Regions from separate parts of the Homo sapiens genome. Here all the other regions are linked to region 1. The links are contacts of gene promoters, found by promoter capture Hi-C in human tissues and cell types (Jung and others, 2019). All regions are on one chromosome and are shown on one strand. The core of a region is centred on a gene start or on the middle of the fragment in contact, and the rest is flanking DNA. Distances in the headings are between cores, read along the strand shown. Region 1 holds the start of ULBP3 (UL16 binding protein 3). Region 2 overlaps PLEKHG1 (pleckstrin homology and RhoGEF domain containing G1). Region 3 holds the start of MTHFD1L (methylenetetrahydrofolate dehydrogenase (NADP+ dependent) 1 like).

The links. Contacts are between HindIII fragments. The study calls those that stand out against the background at their distance.
Region 2: a contact is called between a fragment that was not itself captured here and the fragment with the promoter of ULBP3 in region 1, in 1 of the 25 tissues and cell types used here (H1 embryonic stem cells).
Region 3: the fragment with the promoter of MTHFD1L here is called in contact with the fragment with the promoter of ULBP3 in region 1 in 1 of the 25 tissues and cell types used here (adrenal gland).

The regions. Positions count from the first base shown.
Region 1 is chr6:150,065,721-150,070,587 of GRCh38, forward strand. It overlaps ULBP3 (UL16 binding protein 3), which reads right to left and starts at 3,401. Exons shown (of 5, transcript NM_024518.3): 1 at 3,259-3,401; 2 at 179-442. The coding sequence starts at 3,346. LOC124901428 (a long non-coding RNA gene) reads right to left here and starts at 4,553. Exons shown (of 2, transcript XR_007059809.1): 1 at 4,038-4,553; 2 at 3,708-3,930. RefSeq lists enhancers at 3,076-3,125, 3,146-3,225, 4,423-4,867. The HindIII fragment of the contact is 17,553 bases long and covers 1-4,867 here.
Region 2 is chr6:150,775,978-150,780,735 of GRCh38, forward strand. The region is part of intron 4 of PLEKHG1 (pleckstrin homology and RhoGEF domain containing G1); the gene reads left to right. Among named protein-coding and RNA genes, the nearest start is that of MTHFD1L, 87 kb to the right of the region's middle. The HindIII fragment of the contact is 6,386 bases long and covers 1-4,758 here.
Region 3 is chr6:150,864,445-150,868,887 of GRCh38, forward strand. It overlaps MTHFD1L (methylenetetrahydrofolate dehydrogenase (NADP+ dependent) 1 like), which reads left to right and starts at 1,258. Exons shown (of 28, transcript NM_015440.5): 1 at 1,258-1,605. The coding sequence starts at 1,379. RefSeq lists silencers at 1,100-1,329, 1,390-1,799, 1,960-2,159, 2,280-2,429. The HindIII fragment of the contact is 14,014 bases long and covers 1-4,443 here.

The DNA.
Region 1 (4,867 bases), core at 2,151-4,650:
CCCTGTCCCACATCCTCCTATGCTGAGACCATTCTCATCTGGTCCTGTTGTCTCCTCCAAGTCCTGCCCTTGCTGCTGGGCTTCATGGAGGTCCCATGTCTAATTTCTTCTCCCCACACACAGAACAGCCCCTGAGCCCACAGTCTGCTCCCTTCTGTCCTTGGTCTCTTTCACTCACCACTGGGTGTGAAATCCTCCAGCTCAGTGTCAGCCAGTTCCAGTCTGAGCCTCTGCCCCACCTCTCTCAGCATTTCCAGTTGTTTTCCCCAGGCATCTGTGGCATACAGCTGCTCTTCTAGGTGACCCATAGATAAGACCTTGTCACTGCCACAGTCATAGGAGAGAAAATTCTTCTGATCCACCTGGCTCTGGACCTCACACCACTGTTGCCCATGTCTGGGCAAATGAATGATGGTGAAGTTATACCAGAGAGAGTGAGCGTCTAAGGAAAAAAAAAAAAAACACCAGAGAGTGTTGGGGTGGGGGAAAGACCCCAAACACTGTGACAGCAAGAGGGTTTCCTGAAGGGCTGGGCTGGCAGAGCATGGATTTCTCTTCCTGGACGGTGGTCTCTGCCTGTGGAGGAACCATGGGTCGCTAACATGTCTATCTCCCCACTCTGCCCAGGCCTATACTCACATCCGTCAGCACAGGACCCTGCCAGGGAGGTGGCAGGCCCACTACAGGAAGAAGGACTTAGATGGCAGGATCTGCAGGAGCAGCCCAGGTGGACTGCAAGAGGCGGGAGAGTGTGGGAGGGCACCCTGAGGATGTTGGAGCGTGGTGCAGTGGGTACGATGTAGTTAACATTGGATAAGGATGAGTTCATTTATTATGGGTAACAAGACATGGTAAGTTCCCTGGAATGTGGTCAGCTGCTAGTAGGTTGCCCTTGGAACCTTGGAAAAAGGAATGACCCACACCGCATGAAACAGAAAACCCAGGTCTTACGTGGCAGGTTGTACAGGAAGGAACAAAATACTAAGAGAAGTGCCCATGCCAGAGTGACTGCAGTATGAAAATCCAGAACAATGTTCACCCTCTGTGCTCAAGGGAAGCCTGGAAGACTCCTGTTTACCTAGCATATAAAGAAGGCCCCAGGAGAAGGCAGCAGACTGTCAAGAAGCTCAGGGATGCCTGTTGCTGAAGCCCAGGGTCAGGGGTAGGAGATGCTCTTCCTGAAATGGGCTCCCAGTAGTAATGGGGATGGAAAATCCTGAAATAAGAGATCTCAAGTGGAGGCCGTCAACTGTCAGCAGGAAGGAGGGTGCAATGATGGAAATAATTAGAGAAGTCACAATGCTAGCTGGGGTCCTCAGTCTTACAAAGCTATGCCCATGGCTCATAGAACAAAAGGGTCCAAGATCCAAAAGAGATGGAGACTCCACCCGGATACTACTAGATTTAAATAATTACCACAAAGACAAAATGCAAGGATGGATGACCAGGAGGCTGAAAGTTGTCACCCCGGGAAATAACTGAGCTCCCTCGCCCAGCTTTGAGAACTGAGCCACATCTCAGACGCAGAGTCCATTACTAGAAGGAGAGCCCAGAGCCCCTGGTGGGCTCCTTCAACCCCACAGCAATTGCAATGACTCCTTCAGCCTCCCCCACAGAGCCAGATGGGTAGTCACTCTGGTAACTGTACACCATGAAACAGCAAATACTCAGACACTCCTAGTGGACACAGTGTGTGATCCGAGCTCTTCCCAGGGATGTGAAGCATTAACTTGCTCCCCTGTTACTCATGAGGTGCATTTGGGGCAAAGTAACAGATGGACTTCTGTGTCAGGTCCAGCTTAGAGGGATGTGCTGGGTTCATAGACCCATTCAATGGTAATTTCACATTTCCTGGATTTCTACCGGGAATGGATAGTGTTTGTAGTTAATGTAGTAACTATTATAGTTTGTGCTGGTCATATGACCTCCCCTGTCACTACTCAACTCTGCTCTTATAGCTGGGATGCAGCCATACACACTCTGTGATGAGGGGTGTGGCTGGACCTGCCACTACAGCTATTTGACCCTGGACTCCCTAAGATCCCAGAAGCATGTGTGGTTGGAAAAGGTGCTATGTGGATTTCATGGCTATTCCCAACCACAGAATCCAACAGGGTCCCCTAGTGCTCAGAAGCAAAGCTGTGCCACTCACAGCAGTGAAATCCCCTCATTTAAAAGTGGCTCCTGCTGTGGTCCTGGGCCCCTGTGGAGATGGGCCTCCAGCTATGGGAGGGCAGTGACCACACAGCCTCAGAGCTGCCCATCACAGGGTGTGCTCCTCACCCTTTAGGTCATTAGGAAGATAGGCCCCACAGTGAGAAGACACAGGTGGGTCTCCTGGGATGGGCAGGAGCAGGGCCACAGGGAACCAAGAAGCTGCACAAGCAGTTGGCTCTGATCCCCAGGACACCACATGGCTACACCCCCCCACCCTCAGGTCACACCTGAGGCTTCAGGGAGGGTCCCTGAATGGCCCCTGGGGACCGTTAATGCTACTCAGCAACAAAGGAGGGGAGCAGTAGGCCCCGAACCATGGGACTCCCCCTCACATTCATCACATCCACACCTCCCAGAAGCCACAGGCAGGGTAGGACACACTTGTGACTCTTCAACTTACACAACTTAGAGATGACACCCTAGGGGATGGGGCAGCAATTGCCAGGACACAGCATGTGCCCTCATCTGGAGTCTGCAACCTAGGACAGGGTCCATTTCAGGTTTCTCTTTTACTTGCAGGTTGCCATTGCCTGCTGTTGCTCTACAAAGGGACGGGACTTGACACAGAGACAGAGAACTCACGGCCAGCAAGGACCAAAGTGCCTTCAGCCTTTCCTTTCTAGAAAGGGTTTGCTGACTCCTGTCTGCTTAGTGACTATTCTATATGACGCTGGCGTCACCCATGTCTTGACCCCAGCTCGGGTTCCGGGGGCTCTGGTTTCTCCTTCCCGAGGACGAGTGGGGCTGCGGGGTTGCACCAGGGATCCCCTCCCCACCTCGCCCTCTGCAGCTTTTTGGCCCCTCCACCCTCCTGCGGTTCTTTTTTCGCCTTCTTTGACCCCCCTCCTGCTCTGCAGGGCAAGCAGCAGCCGCAGGAAGCGGACCTGGCGAAAAAGAGCAGCGAATCGGAACTGAGCGTGGGGGCAGTCCGGGGAGATCGCGCCGGTCCTTCTAGAAGGCTTCCCTCCTCTGAAACCCGCTGCAGTCCACAGCCCCCCAGGTTTGGCCCCCGCCCCGCTTAGGCTCCATCCCCGAACTCACCGGCCCGCCCCGTCCCGGACCAGTCGAATAGCAGGTACGGAAGAATCGCGAGGCGCGGAAGGATCGCGGGGCTGGCGGCCGCTGCCATTGTAGACCAGGAGCGCCCGGGACACAAGGCGCAGTCGATGTGGAGACCAGCGTATGAATCACTTCGGCCCTCGCATGCCAGCTAGTGATTGAGTGTGCTCGGCCCCGTCCGGTCCCGTCCCGCCCCGGGATCCAGGGGAGCCTACGCCTGCCCACGTTTGGAGGGATGCTCCGCCCTATCCCGCCCCGTCCCGCCCTTCCCCGCCCCACCCCAGGCTGGGACCCGGGGAGCCTATGCCTGCTGTGGCTCCGCTTCGTCCCGCCCCGGGCTCGTGGCCTGACAGCGGCCCCCTCTGGCCAACCCTTACCCTCCACCCCAGGCTCCGCGCGGGCCAGGACACGATTCCTTCTTGACCGCCTCATTTAATTTTTTAACACACCATTTATTATTACCCCAATGTAAGCACTGATGCACAGGAAAGCGAAGAAACTTGCACAGGGATATCCAGTGGCGGCTGTGTCCCCCCGTCACTGCCTCCGCCAGCGACACCTGCCCTCCTTCAGCCTGCGCCAAGGAGTCCCCGCCCCTCTCCGTCCAGGGCGCAGCTGCTTCCCAGTCCGGAGCAGACCTTCTTTGCCTCTCCACTAAAAGCATGAGGAATATATAGAATATATATAGAATAAAGTATATTCTATATCCCTTTATGACTTCTGGGAAAAAAAAGAAAGAAAAGAAAGCCCTAGTGGCCTACCGTGATCAGTGATCAAATGATCAATTGTGTTTCCATGGAGAGCAGAAGCCGAGGGAGGGTCTACGCATGCGTGGGGCTCACTTTGCTGTACACCCATCTGTGGCCAGCTACACGCAAATCCATGGCTGCACGCGCATCTCTGCCCTGTCCCTGGATGGTGACTGCAGCCATCCTCAAAGCGGCAACCCGAGTGTATCCTCGTCTCAGTCACCATGGAAACATCTAGATCTGTGGGCAGAAGCCAGAGGGAGGTGATGGGCCCAGTGGCCCTTGGCCGCAAGGGAGGGCTTTAGCCTGGGATGAGGAGTGGACAGAGATCTTGAGTGCCACTCAGGCCCCAGCCACTCAGCCCATTCCCTATTGAATGAGAAAAATCGGCACAGACCTCCCACTCCGTACAGTCTTCATGTTGGGATCACCTGCACCTGGTGATCATCAATCCCGAGGGTCCTGAGGCTGTGGGAAAGAGGAGGAGGCCTGGACAAAGCCCAGGGCCTGTTTCTGCTTCAGGACAGAGTCATGGGAGGGCAGCCACCTCTGTGACTGAGCAGGGACACAGGAGCCTAGAAGATTCTGGCCTGATGCACTAGAGCCCCTGTGCAGGAGGGGCCATGTGGAGGGTAGTTTGGAGGACAACAGACACACAAGGGTGGGCAGTTCTCAGATTTGGGAGGGGCAGAGCTTGGCGGGTCCCAGGATCTGTGTGTGAGAAGAGCCTCCCATGTACAGGGCTGGGGGCAGGAGCCCAGGTTAGTCCTGGGAGGAGGCCTCTGGGAAGGCCCTGGCAGCACCACCCCGAGGCCAGGTGACCTGGGCCAGTGACTGGGGGA
Region 2 (4,758 bases), core at 1,094-3,593, 710 kb after region 1:
AACGGGAAAGGGAAGTGCTGCTCAGACCGGAAGGGGAGGGGCCGCATCCTCGAATCTCTCTCAGTGTAAAGCAATAGAAGGTTCAAGGTCATAATACAATTCCTGCCTCAAAGTTCGCATCAGGGGTCAGAAAAGCTTCACATGGGATATGTTCTGTAAAAGAGAACAGTGTTTCCTCTCATTTCCCACCCAACTAAGGGACCTGAGCTCAAGTAGGAAATTTTATAATTGTTTTAACCGTCCTACTCAAAAAGAAGAAAATATTTAAAATACTCAAGGAAACGAGAAAAGATCCAAATCCTGAAGGCAAGATGACTCTAATTTAGCTTAGAATACAAAACACAATCTGTGAGTTATTTCTTACTCCTAGTGTACATGTGCGGTTGCACATCAGCCACACTGATGCAATCCTGGTGCACATGTGCAGTTGCACATTACTCACACTGATGCAATCCTGGTGCACATGTGCAGTTGCACATTACTCACACTGATGCAATCCTGGCGTACATGTGCAGTTGCACATCAGCCACACTGATGCAATCCTGGTGCACATGTGTGGTTGCACATTACTCACACTGATGCAATCCTGGTGCACATGTGCAGTTGCACATTACTCACACTGATGCAGTCCTGGTGCACATGTGCGGTTGCACATTACACTGATGCAATCCTGGTGCACGTGTGGTTGCACATTACTCACACTGATGCAATCCTGGCGTACATGTGCGGTTGCACATCAGCCACACTGATGCAATCCTGGTGCACATGTGCAGTTGCACATTACTCACACTGATGCAATCCTGGTGCACATGTGCGGTTGCACATTACTCACACTGTTGCAATCCTGGCGTACATGTGCGGTTGCACATCAGCCACACTGATGCAATCCTGGTGCACATGTGTGGTTGCACATTACTCACACTGATGCAATCCTGGTGCACATGTGCGGTTTCACATCAGCCACACTGATGCAATCCTGGTGCACATGTGCGGCTGCACATCAGCCACACTGAGGCAATCCTGGTGCACATGTGCAGTTGCACATTACTCACACTGATGCAGTCCTGGTGCACATGTGCAGTTGCACATTACACTGATGCAATCCTGGTGCACATGTGCGGTTGCACATCAGTCACACTGATGCAATCCTGGTGCACATGTGCAGTTGCACATTACTCACACTGATGCAATCCTGGCGTACATGTGCGGTTGCACATCAGCCACACTGATGCAATCCTGGTGCACATGTGTGGTTGCACATTACTCAACACTAATGCAATCCTGGTGCACATGTGCGGTTGCACATCAGCCACACTGATGCAATCCTGGTGCACATGTGCAGTTGCACATTACTCACACTGATGCAGTCCTGGTGCACATGTGCGGTTGCACATTACACTGATGCAATCCTGGTGCACATGTGTGGTTGCACATTACTCACACTGATGCAATCCTGGTGCACATGTGCGGTTGCACATCAGCCACACTGATGCAATCCTGGTGCACATGTGCAGTTGCACATTACTCACACTGATGCAATCCTGGTGCACATGTGCGGTTGCACATTACTCACACTGATGCAATCCTGGTGTACATGTGCGGTTGCACATCAGCCACACTGATGCAATCCTGGTGCACATGTGTGGTTGCACATTACTCACACTGATGCAATCCTGGTGCACATGTGCAGTTGCACATTACTCACACTGATGCAGTCCTGGTGCACATGTGCGGTTGCACATTACACTGATGCAATCCTGGTGCACGTGTGGTTGCACACTACTCACACTGATGCAATCCTGGTGCACATGTGCGGTTGCACATCAGCCACACTGATGCAATCCTGGTGCACATGTGCTGTTGCACGTTAGTTACACTGATTCAATGAGAAATCCGTAGTCTCCACCCCCGAGGCTGTAACTGTAGAATCATCCCGTGTCTGGTATTTAGGAGTGTCTTCAGTGGCTGATGCACTGCATTCCAGGCCCCGACTGTGCTCCCATTGTACTTTGCGTGTTTGCATATCTTTTATAGCGAGATGTCTTCCTCTATCCCACCACACTCTCTGTTGCCCACCAAATTCCAGCCACTGTGGCTTCCTTTGTATACCTCACAGGAGAACCCACCAAGCTCATTCTATCCTGGTTTGCAATTCCATTCTTTTTTTTGAGACGGAGTCTCACTCTGTTGTCCAGGCTGGAGTACAGTAATGCAATCTAGGCTCAGTGTATCCTCCGCCTCCCAGGTTTAAGCAATCCTCCCTCCTCAACCTCCCAAGTAGCTGGAATTACAGGCGCTCACCATCACGCCTGGCTAATTTTTGTATTTTTAGTAGAGAGGGGGCTTCACCATGTTGGCCAGGTTGGTCTCAAACTCCTGGCCTCAGGTGATCCGCCCGCCTCAGCCTCCCAAAGTGTTGGTATTATAGGCATGAGCCACTGTACCCAGCCTGCAATCACATTCTTAAATGACTTTCTCTTCCAAGACTTCCTGCACTCAAATATCACCTCCTCAGAGAACCTTCCCTGACTGTCCCAACCTTCTTTCACCCTCGCCCAGCCTCAGTTGCTCTCTATCGTACTACCCTCTATTTCCTTCATATCACATAATACAATGTGATATTATGTTGTTTATTCACACTTATTAGTACTTTTCACCCCTGGTCAGATCATAAACACATGGGACAGGGCCTTTGTCCACCTTCTTTACCCCTGTAACCTTCTTGCCTGACATCCAGTCTTTTAGCAATTGCTTATTGAATAGCAAGCAGACAAAGTGGATAGGAACAGCTTCATGGGGATGATAGCCCCAGTGACAAGAGGATGAGAGAAATGCCATTACTTTCTCTTTACTAGTACCATTTTTATTGTGTTTATCCTGTTCTAGAAAAAGGTTGTAAAGGAAAGCTGACCAGGTAACTCAAACAAGACTTGTCTAGTAGGCAGTACCATGTTGAAGATATGACAGTGTGGAGTCTGGCCCTCAGCTTTGAGTGGAACAGCAAACAAATCTTTCAATAGATGTGTTTCTAAGAGAGTGCAGGACTGGGATTCAGAAGGCCTGAATCTAACCATGACTGTGGCCATGCATTATTGGCAGTGTGACCTAAGGTAAGCTACATCCTTTAATAAGCCATGGTTTCCTCACCTTAAAATTAGGGATCGGAACTGAAGGTATCTGAGTGCCCTCCCAGCTCTGTGGTTCTTGAGTGCCAGGCATTCATTCACAGATGAGGTACACCTGGAGCCTGGCTGGGTCCCCGAGACACTTCCTCCTACCAGGAAGTCCACTCGTGAGATGAAACTAAAGCTTGGAGGCAATCCGAACATACAATTTAAAACACAGGGGGTTAAATATTGTCAAGAAGTTTTTTTTTTTTTTTTTTTGAGACAGAGTCTCGTTCTGTCGCCTAGGCTGGAGTGCAATGGCGCGATCTCAGCTCTCTGCAACTTCTGCCTCTTGGGTTCACGTGATTCTCCTGCCTCAGTCTCCCGAGTAGCTGGGCTTACAGGCACCTGCCACCACACTCAGCTAATTTATGTATTTTTAGTGGAGACAGGGTTTCACCATGTTAGTCAGGTTGGTCTCAAACTCCTGACCTCAGGTGATCCGCCCGCCTCGGCCTCCTAAAGTGCTAAGATTACAGGCATGAGCCACCATGCCTGGCCTGCCAAGAAGTGTTTCTGTTGTGCTATGAGAAATAACAAGGCCGGGCGTGGTGGCTCACGCCCGTATTCCCAGCACTTTGGGAGGCCGAGGCTGGCAGATCATGAGATCAGGAGATCAAGACCATCCTGGCTAACACAGTGAAACCCTGTCTCTACTAAAAATACAAAAAATTAGTCAGGCATGGTGACACGTGCCTGTAGTCCCAGCTACTCAGGAGGCTGAGGGAGAATTGCTTGAACCCAGAAGGTGGAGGTTGCAGTGAGCCGAGATCACACTACTGCACACCAGCCTGGGTGACAGAGCGAGACTCCGTCTCAAAAAAAAAAGAAAGAAATAACATGATGGAGTCCGCTCACAGTTCTTCTCTGCTCAGAGAGAGGGCCTATACTGAAAGACCAGGACACAATACATCCAGAGCACCCCATCCTCTACTAATGGAAAACACTGGCCCAGAAATGTTTCTCTCTGGCTATTATTTTCCTTTTCTTTAATTTTTTTTTTTTTTTTGAGACAGAGTCTTGCTCTGTTGCCCAGGCTGGAGTGCAGTGGCATGATCTCAGCTCACTGCAACCTCCACCTCATGGGTTCAAGTGATTCTTCCGCCTCGACCTCCCGAGTAGCACCACACCTGGCTAATTTTTGTATTTTTAGTAGAGACAGGGTTTCACCATATTGGCCAGGCTGGTCTTGAACTCCTGACCTCATGATCTGCCCACGTCGGCCTCCCAAAGTGTTGGGATTACAGGCGTGAGCCACTGCACCTGGCCCTCTGGCTTTCATTTCCTCAGACCTTTTCTCTTACCTCATCTGGTATTCAGGTCAGAATGATGTGATTTCGACTCTCCTTAAACTCTTCCTTTTTTCCGTGAGAATACTGGACAGTGGCTCTCACAGGTGTAGCATTTACCCCGAGATAACTTTACCATGACATATCTCACTTTTATTATTATTTTCACATCACTCTAGTATATCGACTTTAAAAACAAAAGACATCATTCTCTTTATAGCATTCTGTTTTTAGTAGTGGTATTTCCATTTACAAAATATAGTAATTCTCAATTGCTGAAAATGTCAAATCTTAGAAAACAT
Region 3 (4,443 bases), core at 8-2,507, 800 kb after region 1:
TGTGGATTTTCTCTGTCTTCTGGTGTCCTGTCACATCCCAAAGCCGTGCAGTGCACTTTAGGTAAATTGGTGCATCTACACGATCCGAGTGTGAGTGTGGGTGTGTGTGAGCACACCCTGTGAGGTGCCCTGAGTTGGAATAAGCCGGTAAAAATGATCTCACTTTTATTAATCTTTATTTTTCTCTAAGCGAGAGGGATAGGGGGTGTTTAAAAAAAACTTTTTCTTTGAGACAGAGCTGTGCTCTGTCGCCCAGGCTAGAGTACAGTGACATGATCTCGGCTCACTGCAACCTCTGGCTCCTGGGTTCAAGCGATTCTCCTGCCTCAGCCTCCCGAGTAGCTGAGAATACAGGCACGCGCCACCACACCCAGCCAATTTTCTGTATTTTTAGTAGAGATGGGGTTTCGCCATGTTGGCCAAGCTGGTCTTGAACTTCTGGCCTCACGTGATCTGCCCACCTCAGCCTCCCAAAGTGTTGGGATTATAGGCGTGAGCTAAAAATCTTCCTTAAATATATGCATGGCTCACACTTATTTCAATGTTTAATATTAGAAGTGTTTTGGTCTTTATTTCGAAGTTTAGGGGCGATTTTGTGACCACAGATATGTTGTAGGAACTTCACTCATATCAATTAGCCTGTGGTCAAACTGTTTTCCTTACAGTCATTTGGCTTAAAGTTTCAGTTTCCAAGAACCCCTCCACGATGTTAGGTGAGGACTTAGGGAATGTGGAGATGACCTAAAGTTTATGATGGGAAGATGTGTGTAGGTGATATGCAAACACTTTTTTTTTTTTTTTTTTTTACCAAGGACTTGAGCATTTGTGGACGTGGGTCCCCTGGAGGGGCCCTGGAACCAATCAGGACTATAAAATCCTTTTAAGGTTTTAAGAAGAGCATTGTTATCTCTGTGGTACTGACGAAGACCCCGCAAGCTCACCGAGATTAAGTGCCCCTGCCTAAGGTTACAAAGCCTCTTATCCTCAGGCCACCTCCAGTACAGCAAATCCAAGCCCTCCCGTCTAAACTTGGCGCCCTGAGTACCAAGGGTCACCTCGGCCTTTCAGGCTGAAGGGAGGGAGGCTGAGTCTCAGGGCAGAGTCTGAGTCCCACTCCGCACCCCACCCTCTGTCTGGTACAGCTTACCAAACCAAAGTGCCCAAAGCCGTGACATCCCGGCCGGCGGCTCGCAGGCCCCCGCCCTCCGCACGTCACGGCCGCCGGGTGCAGTGCCCCCTAGGGGCCCCTGGGACGAGGAGGAAGCGCCAGGTCCTTCCCGCCGCCGCCGCCGCCGCCGCCGCCTGCTCCCCTGGCACGCGCCCCGCCGCCCTCGGCAGCCGCAGCTCCGTGTCCCCTGAGAACCAGCCGTCCCGCGCCATGGGCACGCGTCTGCCGCTCGTCCTGCGCCAGCTCCGCCGCCCGCCCCAGCCCCCGGGCCCTCCGCGCCGCCTCCGTGTGCCCTGTCGCGCTAGCAGCGGCGGCGGCGGAGGCGGCGGCGGTGGCCGGGAGGGCCTGCTTGGACAGCGGCGGCCGCAGGATGGCCAGGCCCGGAGCAGCTGCAGCCCCGGCGGCCGAACGCCCGCGGCGCGGGACTCCATCGTCAGGTGAGTGTCGGGTCTGGCCCTGGCCCAGGTCTCCAGCGGCTGTGGCCCCGACCCAGGGGCGGAGCGCCCGGGACCGCCGTGGGGAGCGGGGCGCGGGGCTGCGAGTGTTTGGTGCCAACTCATTAGGGGGGCCGGGCGGTGTGTCGGGAAACGCGGGCTTGGGCACTGCGGCCGGGAGCGCTGGCGGAGAACGGGGGATCCAGTACCCGACCGGGCCCGCAGCGCAGGTGGGCGTGGGCATCTCCAATGGGCGCCTAGCGGCATGGACCGCACGCCCGGCTCCACGTGCGCAGCCGGCCGCCGGCTCTGATGCAATCGCGCCGGGCGCGACCCAGACGGTAAAGGGGCGGTGCGGCTGGGGCGGAAACCAGGGGAGGGGGCGAGGAGCAGGAGGAGGGCGGGGCTGCGGCTCGGCGCGCCGGCTGGCCCGGGGTTCGGGAAGGGCAAGCGGAGCTCGGGAGAGGCGGGCTCGGGCCCAGCGCCGCCCGCGCGAAGCTCCCTGGTGTTGTGCGCCCTTCCCCGCGCGCGGCCCCTCCTGCTGGGCTGGGGTCTGTGGCTGACGTCCGCTTTTCCCGGAACGGCAAAGGTGGAGCCGGGCCCCCGGGACAGCCGCCGGGGGGAATCCGAGAGGTCTCAGCGCTGGTTTCCAGCTTCGCCGCGCAGCGCCCACGGAGTCCCCGCGCAGCTGGGTTTGCAGGGTTTTCTGCGGGCCCAGAGCGAACTGGGAGCCCCGGGCCCGGCCTTTCCCGTCCCGGTCCCCGCCCCTGGGCTCCAGCCTTCCCCGCCCTCGCCCAGAGGGGCGCACGGGTCTCGGGCCTTGCAGGGCGAGCCCTTCGGGACAACTTGGGGGTGGCAAGAAAGCCCCTTCCGCCTCCCTCGGAACTGGGATTAGGAACGAGTTCCAGGATGCGGTTTCCCCGGCCAGCGGACCACCTCCTCCATTCACATCCTCTTCCCTTTCCTTCTAGCCTTCTTTCTTAGTCATTGCCTGCTTGCCTTTCTCTCTGCCTTTCCTTCCTCCCTCTGCTCTCCCATTTTCCTCCCCACTCCCCTTCTCCCATCTCAGTAAAATACGTTTCCTAGGCTCTTTATTATGTGGCGGATGATTTTAAGGGGCCATTTATTTAGTTTTTCTTGTTCTCTGTCTTCTTTTTCTTTTAGAAATGGAGTCTCGCTTTGTTGCTCAGGCTGGAGTTCAGTGGTGCCATCTCGGCTCAATGCAGCCTCCGCCTCCTGGGCTCAAGCGATTCTCCCGCCTTAGCCTCCAGTGTAACTGGGACCACAGGTGTGCGCTACCATGCCCGGATTATTTTATTTTATTTTCATAGAGACAGAGCACCACTCTGTTACCAGGCTGGTCTGGAACTCCTGGGCGCAAGCCATCATCCCTGCCCCCAAAAGCGCTGGGATTAATTACACGTCAGGTCATTAGGTTTTAACCTGCACGTTGCTGAGACTCATCTTACCGGTTAGAGTCTGAAGCCAGGATAGGCGGCAAAAAAACTTCTCCCGTCATGCTGTTTTATTTTCTAGGTAAACTGATTATTACCTGAAACTTCCTTCTTTGCTCATTTCTTGTCTGTCTCACCCACCTGGAATATGAGCTTCATGAGACAGCCGTCTCTTCGGTGCTATATCCTAGGTCCTGGAGAGAGTGCCCAGCATGTAATAAGCACTTGTGAAATGGTTACAGAAGGAATGCTTCAAGATTTGGGGTCATCTGTGGGTTTTATTCATACATATTCTTTTTTTTTTTTTTTTTTTTTGAGACGGAGTCTTGCTCTGTCACTCAGGCTGGAGTGCAATGGCACGATCTTGGCTCCCTGCAACCTCTGCCTCCCAGGTTCAGGCGATTCCCCTGCCTCAGCCTCCCGAGTAGCTGGGATTACAGGAGCACGCCACCACGCCCGGCTAATTTTTGTATTTTGAGTAAAGACAGGATGTCTCACCATGTTGGCCAGGCTGGTCTTGAACTCCTGACCTCAGGTGATCCGACTGCCTTGGCCTCCCAAAGTGTTGGGATTACAGGCGTGACCCACCGCGCCTGGGCTATTCATGCATACTTTTAGGTTTAAAGCCATGACTGCCTTAGAGATGAGTAAAGAGGTTAGTAGGGGGCTTTAGGGCCTGCACTGGGTTCTCCAAACTCAATTCCTTCAGGAAAATGGGAGGAGTAACAGTACTTACCTCAAGGGGTTATGGAAACAATTATGTGAGAGGACACATGCAAAATACATAGCCCAGGACTGTCACATACAAGACAAGTCCCTCAACAAATGGTGGCTATTAATTTTTTTTTTTTTTTTTTGAGACGGAATCTCACTCTGTCGCACAGGTTGGAGTGCAGTGGCGGGATCTCGGCTCACTGCAACCTCCGCCTCCCGGGTTCAAGCGATTCCCCTGCCTCAGCCTCCTGAGTAGCTGGGATTACAGGCTCGCACTACCACGCCTGGCTTATTTTGTGTTTTTAGTAGAGACGGGGTTTCACCATGTTGGCCAGGCTGGTCTCAAACTCCTGACCTCGTGATCTGCCTGCCTCAGCCTCCCAAAGTGCTGGGATTACAGGTGTGAGCTACCATGCCCAGCAATATTTTTACAATTCACTAAGCCAGGGGTCCACAGACGTTTTATATATAATGGGCCAGATAGTAAATATTTTAGGTTTAGTGATCCTAGAGGCAAATCAAAATTATTAGTAGGTACATTTATAACAAGAGAAAAGACAAATTTAGGCCAGGCACCATGGTTCATGCCTGTAATCCCAGCACTTTGAGAGGCCAAAGTGGGATGATCACATTCCCAGGAGTTCAAGACCAGCCTGGGCAACATAGTGAGACA